Linked DNA regions of Homo sapiens: region 1 is linked to region 2. Evidence: promoter capture Hi-C in human tissues and cell types (Jung and others, 2019). All regions are on one chromosome and are shown on one strand. The core of a region is centred on a gene start or on the middle of the fragment in contact, and the rest is flanking DNA. Distances in the headings are between cores, read along the strand shown. Region 1 has its middle 15 kb from the start of ZNF268. Region 2 holds the start of ZNF84 (zinc finger protein 84).

The links. Contacts are between HindIII fragments. The study calls those that stand out against the background at their distance.
Region 1: a fragment that was not itself captured here is called in contact with the fragment with the promoter of ZNF84 in region 2 in 8 of the 25 tissues and cell types used here (IMR-90 fibroblasts, bladder, dorsolateral prefrontal cortex and 5 more).

Annotation. Positions count from the first base shown.
Region 1 is chr12:133,164,653-133,169,041 of GRCh38, forward strand. No RefSeq gene overlaps it. Among named protein-coding and RNA genes, the nearest start is that of ZNF268, 15 kb to the right of the region's middle. The HindIII fragment of the contact is 6,555 bases long and covers 1-4,389 here.
Region 2 is chr12:133,035,198-133,039,378 of GRCh38, forward strand. It overlaps ZNF84 (zinc finger protein 84), which reads left to right and starts at 2,312. Exons shown (of 5, transcript NM_001289971.2): 1 at 2,312-2,348. It overlaps ZNF84-DT (ZNF84 divergent transcript), which reads right to left and starts at 2,025. Exons shown (of 3, transcript NR_110091.1): 1 at 1,572-2,025. RefSeq lists an enhancer at 1,929-2,018 and a silencer at 2,239-2,418. The HindIII fragment of the contact is 8,441 bases long and covers 1-4,181 here.

The sequences.
Region 1 (4,389 bases), core at 1,864-4,363, 130 kb after region 2:
TAAAGGGAAGCAGGAAACAGAACTATATAAGAGCAGAGTTTTTGCATGATATTGAAGTTAACTTTGTATCAATTCAGACTATATTGGCCTCAAATTTATTTGGAAGTCCAGAGGGCTGTGAATAGCCAAAGCAATCTTGAAAAAGAAGAATAAAGTCGGAGGCAGTTTCTGCTTTCAAAACTTACTACAAAGCTACAGTCATCAAAACAATGTGGTATTTGCATAACTATAAACATTTAGATCAATGGAATAGAATTTAGAGTCCAAAAATAAACCTATACATGTATGTCCAGTTGATTTTTACAAGGGTGCCAAGTATATTAAGTAAGGAAAAATAATCTCTTCAACAAATGGCACCGGATGACTGGATTTCCACATGCAGAAGAATGAAATTGGCTTCCTTCTCACACTACATACAAAAATTAATTCAAACTAGACCAATGACTTAAAAACTAAAACTGTAAAACTGTTAGAATAAAACATAAAGGAAAAATCCTCATGACCATAGGGCCTGTCATGGTGACTCACACCTGTAATGCCAGAACTTTGCAAGGCTGAGGCAGGAGGCTTACTTGACCTCGAGAGTTGGAGACCCACCTGGGCAACCTAGTGAGATCCCATCTCTATTAAAAAAAAAAAGAAAAAATATTCACAACCTTAGATTTGGCAATAGATTCTTAATTATGACACCAAAAGCACAAGCAATAACAGAAAAGAATAGATAAATTGGACTTCATCAAAATTTTGAAATTTTGTGCATCAAAGGACATTATCATGAAAGTGAAACAGTAACCTACAGAAATAGAGAAAATATTTGCAAATCATGTAAGAGTTTAATATCAGGAACATTTAAACAACTCCTACAACTCAAAAAACAACCCCACTGAAAAATGAGTGGAGACATGAATAGACATTTCTCCAAAGAGGATGTGCTAATGGCCACTAAACATGTGAAAAGATGGTCCAAGTTATTAGTCATTTGGGAAATGCTAACCAAAACCACAATGAGATACCACTCCACATCTTCTAGGATAGGTGTAATTTTTTTTTAAAGCAGAAAGTATTAAGTCTTATTCCCCAGTGAACAGGTATATTCAAACCTACCCCTACAGTCCAAGGGAACTGAGAAGCCAAAGAAAGAAGCTAATAAATCCAGTTTCTCAGAAACATTCAATAGGGACTTATAAACAGAAGTGATGTCTTGGGCAACCATGAGACTGCGGATTACTGCACTCACCCTCCAGAAGGAATTCTTTATATCACAAGCTTTTTTGTTAAGACATGTTCAGCTGGCCATGTTTCAGACTCTCTTGCAAAACTCATGACCAATAGGAATTTAGAGAAGCATCTCTATGAGGGATTGTCTATGGCACGGGCATTGTTTTTTGAACTTACCGTAGCAATGTCTTGGTATGCATGCTTCAAACATTAGTCATTATGTCAGTTTCATTTCAAGATGGCCTTACTCTTGACTGGCAACAGACTGTTTTCCTACAAGTGTTTGGTAAGGATGTGAAGAAATTGGAGCCCCTGTACATTGCTGGTGGGAATGTAAAACGGTTCAGCCACTGTGAGAAACATTTTGGTGGTTTCTTGGAAAGGACAGAATTGCCCTATGACCCAATAATACCGCCACTGTGTATATACCCCAACGCATTGAAAATAGGGAGTCAAACAGATACTTTTATGCCAATATTCCTTGCAGAATTATTCATAATAGCCCAAAGGTGGATCAACCCAAATGTCCATCAACAGATAAATGGATAAACAAAATGGAGTATACAACAGGATTATCAGTCATAAAACAGAACCAAAGCTCTGGTACATGCAACAACATAGGTGATCCTGAAAAACATTATGCCAAATGAGATAAACCAGACACAAAGGGACAAATATTGTATGATTCCACTTATATGACCCAGGTCAAATAGGCAAATTCATGGAGACAGAAAGTAGATCAGAGGTTTCCAGGCAAATAGGGGGAATGGGGAGTTATTGCTAAATGAGTACCAGAGTTTCTGTTTGGCGTGATGGAAAAGTTTTGGAAATAGTGGTGATGGTTACACAACATTGTGAATCTAATTAATGTCATTGAATTGTATGCTTAGCGATAGTTAAAATGGAAGTTTTTATTATGTATATATATCCACAATGAGATAAAAAGAAATTTTAAAAATTTAAAGAGAGTAATTTTAAAATGTTAGAATTAGCCAATTTTACATCATATTGAATTTTGCATTTCAAGCATAGGCTAATTTCCCCTCACAATTATTTTGTCTGTGTGTGTGTGTTTGGGGGTGTTTTCAGGCCTTTAGTATATATTTATTGATAGTGATAGATGACAAGAAATTTTTATGCTAATGTGATTTATGAAAAACATTTTTAAAGAGAACTGGTTGTGGTGGCTCATGCCTATAATCCTAGTGCTTTGGGAGGCTAAGGTGGGAGGATCGCTTGAAGCCAGGAGTTCAAGACCAGCCTGGGCAACATAGGGAGACACCATTTCTACAAAAAAATTAAAAAATTAGCCAGGTATATATGTTATATATATTATATAATGTAGCATACATTATATAATATATATTATACAGGTGCACACCTGTATTCCTAGCTACTTAGGAGGCTGAGATAGGAGGATCACTTGAGCCCAGGAATTTGAGGTTACAGTGAGCTATGGTCGTGCCACTGAACTCCATCCTGCGTGATAGAGTGAGACCCTGTCTCTTTAATTTATTTTTAAAAGAACAGATGTAAGAAAGACCTTCTAAATATAAGGGTAAATAGAGGTGAAATGTAAGGAGAGGAAAAAATATATACCATGCATACAGTAACCAAAAAAAAAAAAAAGCTTGCATGGCTATATTAACATCAGACTATGGCAAGAAATATCATGAGAGATAGGAAAATTTTATAATAATAAATGGCAAACTCAACAGGAAAATCTAAATATCTCAAATAAATAGCTTGAGACATAAGCATATTCCACCCTGATTACTGTGACAACTTTCTGTAGTAGAGGATCTGCCAGTGCTCATCAAAACTGTTTGCTTTTTCCTCATTAGCAACTCTTTCCAAACACACCTTGAGTTACATGGAGTCAAGTGACCAAGTTCTGGCCATGGAATATGGGCTAAAATGGGATATACTGCTTTCAGTCATGTCCCATGTGATGAAGAATGAACGTTCTTTAGATTATTACACAAAGTGGGAAAGACTGTCAGGGAAACTTGAAAAAGAATTAGACATGAATAAAATATTACTTTGTATTTTCAGTGTAAATCTAGGCATTATTTAAAGCACTCTTCCATATTATATCTGCTTTTCATTGTCTTTGAGATGTTTTACAACCCTGTACTTTATCGAAAACTTGTAATATATTATTCTCCATAGAAATGCAAATATATTATGTCTAGTTGAATGCAATTCTTTAGTTTTGCATCTTTTTGTAAATTCACCCTCGTATTTCTTACCTATTTATCTGTGGTTCCTTGAATTCTTCTTTGGACTATTTACAACAGCTTACTGGTACACTCATTAAATAAGAAGGTAATTAAAATATTCGGCACATGTTTATTTTGTGTTTGTATGAGAGTCATGACTTTATCTTTTTTTTTTTTTTTTGAAACAGGGTCTCACTTTGTCACCCAGGCTGGAGTGCAGTGTCGTGATCACGGTTCACTGCAGTGTTGACCTCCCAGGCTCAGGTGATCCTCTTACCTCAGCCTCCTGAGTAGCTGGGACTATGGGTGGCACACCGCCATGCCTGGCTAATTTTTTTTTTGGTATTTTTTTGTAGAGACGGGGTTACACTATGTTGTCAAGGCTGGCCTCAAACTCCTGGATTCAAGCAATCCCCCCACCTTGGCCTCTCAAAGTTCTAGTATTACAGACATGAGCCACCGTGCCCAGCTGATTTTATATTTTTTAAAAAAATCTTGTGAAAGTTGCTTAAAACACCCTGTATAACTTCCACTGTCTCTCCCATCCACCATTTGCAAGCTGGATTTCAACATAAGAAATCTATCAGAATCATATACTGAAAGCAACAGACTCTGTAAACATGGGTCTCTGAATGATTGACTTTAGCAGAGATTCCCCCAACCCTCATTGCACTATGATATGTGAAAACATAAGGTACAAATTACATATCATAAAATGTAACCATTTAATGTATATAATTTCATTTTAAAACTATTTTTACAGGCCAGGCGCAGTGGCTCACACCTGTAATCCCAGCACTTTGGGAGGCTGAGGCAGGCGGATCACGAGGTCAGGATATCGAGATCATCCTGGCTAACACGGTGAAACCCCGTCTCTACTAAAAAAAAAATAACAAAAAATTAGCTGGGCATGGTGGCGGGCGCCTGTAATCCCAGCTACTCAGGAGGC
Region 2 (4,181 bases), core at 1,062-3,561:
TACAGCAATAGAAAATAAACTAAGACAGAAAATTGGTACTGAGGAGTGGGGCTGTTGCTAATAATAAATCCTGAAAATGTGGAAGTGGCTTTGGAACTGGGTAATGGGCAGAGTTTGGAAGAGTCTGGAGGAGCAGGTTAGAAAAGGCCTAGATTCTGGTGAGGGATTGTCTCAAAAAAAAAAAAAAAGAAGAAGAAGAAGTTGTGAAACCATGCCCCCAAATAGTTAAAGAAACCAGTGACTAACGAATTTTTTTTTTTTGAGATGGAGTCTCGCTCTTGTCGCCCAGGCTGGAGTGCAGTGGCGCGATGTCGGCTCGCTGCAATCTCCACCTCCCAGGTTCAAGCGATTCTCCTGCCTCAGCCTCCCGAGGAGCTGGGATTACAGGTGTGCACCACCACGCCCAGCTAATTTTTGTATTTTTAGTAGAGACAGGGTTTCACCATGTTGGCCAGGCTGGTCTCGAACTCCTGACCTCAGGTGATCTGCCCGCCTCGGCCTCCCAAAGTGCTAGGATTATAGGCGTGAGCCACCGCGTCCGGCTAACAGAAATTCTTGAGCTTACAGGATGGCAGATAAGAAACAGTTTGCTGAAACTCCGTTTGTAATATAATACAACTGGCTGAAATCAGTTGAAACCAATATAACCAAACGGAGTCCATGCAGAATGAGCTTGCTGATGTCGCAGCCTGAATTTCCACTGCACTTTTCACACTAACTCTACCTTAATTTGCACATGGGACCCAAGAAGAGGCTTGAAGAGACAACTGCACATGGTCGGGGACTTTCCAGACTTCCTTTTTCCTTCACCATTCACCTGTGAATCCCAGAATCCACCCTCTAAACCTTTTTTCACAATAGTGCTGCCTTAAGGGCAGCACAGAGAGATAGATTTGAACTAAACTCCTGTCACTTTGTTGGTCAACTCGCAATTAAGCTTTTCTTTTCTCAAACGCCTGGTGCCATAGTATTGGCTTCTGTGCACATCGGGCAATGAGGTCTTTTGCGTAGCAGTATTTGGATATCCGGTTTCCTCACGCTATTTATTGAAGCGACTGTCCTTTCCCCATCGTGTATTCTTGACACAAGATTAGTTGACTTGCCTAAGATTAGTTGACTGTATATGCATGGGGTTATTTCTGGTTTTTCTACGCTGTTCCACATTGGTCCATGCGTCTGTTTTTATGCTAGTACTTCACTGGTGAGTTCTACCTCTGGGAATAAATATAAGAATTCTCTAATCACTGGATGTTTGAAGCAATTCACTAAGCAACTCATTATGATGCTTTCTGGCAAAGGATCTCTGAATTTGTCTTCAAATTGTGGATAAAATTGGGTCAAATTTGGCCCATGTTGTCCTGGAGAATCATTTGTGTCACAAATTATCAAATTTATTAGTATAGAGCGGATTTTCATTCAATTTCCTATGTGTCTATGGTTATTTCTCTTTTTTCATCTCTCTCCTCCATCTCCCCGGCCCCATCTTGCTGTCATAAGCATCGTGACTTACCTATAATTCTCCCTACGACTCCAGTTATGGATCAACTTTACTTTTTTCTGTTAATTCTTACCTTCTTTCCATAAATATATTTAAATTTTTTCTGGTTTCCTCAACTGAAGTCAAACCAATTGAGTATTGGTGGGCCGGGCGCGGTGGCTCACGCCTGTAATCCTAGCACTTTGGGAGGCCAAGGCGGGCGGATTGCCTGAGCTCAGGAGTTCGCGACCAGCCTGGGCAACACGGTGACTCCCCGTCTCTACTAAAATACAAAAAAATTAGCCGGGCGTGGCGGCGGGCGCCTGTAGTCCCAGCTACTCGGGAGGCTGAGGCAGAAGAATGGCGTCAACCCGGGAGGCGGAGTTTGCAGTGAGCCGAGATCACGCCACTGCACTCCAGCCTGGGTGACAGAGCGAGACGCCGTCTCAAGAAAATATATATATATATTGGTGGATTCGGTTTCCCTTTATGTTTCTCAGAAAACCGTGTGAGCCCGTTTGGAGTCACTCCGTCTCCAAGCGACAGGCACTTCCGGACGCGGGGCACTGTGGGAAGTTGAGTTCGCGGGGCTCCTTCCTTCGCGCATGCGCACATGCACTCTTGGTAATGCTTGCAGGTGGCCCGTTCTTCCTCTTTGTCCTTCGCTGCCACGTGAGAGGGGAGTGTACGCGTGTGCGCGCGTGCGAGTGTGCGCGTGTGCAGTCCCCGACTCGTCCCGGCCCGTTCGGAGCCGCCCGGGAGCGCACAAAGGCCGACGGTTTGGGCGCGTGCGCGGGACACGGGGGACGGGCGGTGTCACGTGATCGCGAGGCCGCGGGCGCGCGGGCGCGACTCGGCGGCGGCGTCTTTTGTGAGTTCAGTGAGTTTATTGCGGGCCCGGCGCTGGGGGCTCCGGGAATGGCGGGGGAGGCGCGCGGGAGTGGCCGCGGGGAGCTTCGGCTTCAAGGCCCTGGGCGTCCGCGCGCGGATGCGGGTCTGGGGCGGGTTGGGGCTGGGCCGGGTCGTGAAGATGCCGTGGGCCGCGGAGCTGCGCGGATTCTGGGCTGTGGGGCGGGCACGGCCTTTCCGGAGGCGCCGCTCCTGGGCGTCCTTTCAGGCGGGCGTGGAGGCGCCAGCCTCGGGCGCGTTTAGCCTCGGGCGCGTTTAGCCTCGACCTCGGGCCAGCCCGCTTGCCGCGCCGTGGCCCTAAGGAGCGGCTGCCCTGCTGGACCGCATCCACCAGCAGCCTGGCTCTGCCGCTATCGAAGGAGGCTTTTAAAGCGCTGGGGTTACAGGTGTGAGCCACCATTCCTGGCCGTGTATTTTTTAATGGTTATATTTATTGACTGTTTTAAATTTTTTAAGTGACTTTTGCTTTTGGTATGGTGTAGCGAAATCTCCCCTCAAATTATACATATATTCATTCACCTGTGGTTTTTTTTTGTAGACATTCTTAGGGTTTCCATTATTTTAAAATTTAACCCACTGAAAGTAGTTGTATGAAATAGCTACGTTTATTTTCTTTCAAATATTCTTGTATTCATTAAATAATTTAATTTTACTGATGGCTTTGAAATGCTACATTTATTGCATGCTGACTCTTGCATATTTAGACAGTTTGCTTTTTTTCATCTGTATAACTTCTCTGGAGCCAGTGTCAAATGTTATAATGATTATAATTTGTATGTATTACAGTGGGCCTGTTCACACTCATTATTTTGTATTTCCAAAAGCATCCAGGCCCGGTGTGGTAGGGCATGCCTGTAGCCCCAGCTACTCTGTAGGTTGAGGTAGGAGGATCACTTGAGCCCAGGAGTTCAGGGCTGCAGTGAGCTATGGTTATGCCATTGCACTTCAGCCTGGACAACACAGTAAGACCCTGTCAAAAAAAAAAAAAAAGTGTCCGAATTGTTCTTGAACCTTTTTTCTTACACATAAACTTTAGAATTTTGAGATTCTGATTGGAGTCGATGAGTTATATAAATCATTTGAGGTCAAATTATCTTCACAATCTGAAGTCTTCCTATCCCAGAATAAAATCGAATTATAAATTTCTTTAATTCTATTTTTATAGTTCTCATTGGTGTTTTTAGTATGCTTCATATGGGTCTTGATATTCCTACATATTTTATGTATTTTGTCAATTATGAGTCGGATTTTATTTTTTTGTTATTTTATGTGAGTTGTTTATATCTTACAGAAATAAGGTTATTGACCTGGAAAGATGTTCTTCACATAATGGGAAAAAAACAAAAACAGCTTTTAAATATGACCATATGCTTCCATTGTATGAAAAATATCACAATAGTTTCCATCATCCTAAGAATGGTTACCTGTGGTGAGATCATAGATAATAGTTCTTATTTAGCTTGTGTATGTTTTTTATATTTTGCCATCATATATTACTTTTATAATAATAATTATAGCTAGTATATGTTTCGTATGACTGTGTGCCAGCTTTTGTTCTAAGATTTATGTATTATCACAATTTAAGGTATAAAGGAGTCATTTCTTGTATAACTGGGAGAAACTGCTGTGTGTTTCTGAGTTGGCACTGAAGTTTGAACCACAAAAAGGCATGAAAAAGAAAGTGCTGCTTGTTAGTGTGATACAGTTGAGGCAGGGCGTCCTTCATTTATATTTTTGTGGGAATTAGTGACTGAATGTGTGCATGGGAATAGGAGCTGACTCCAGGATTTATGTT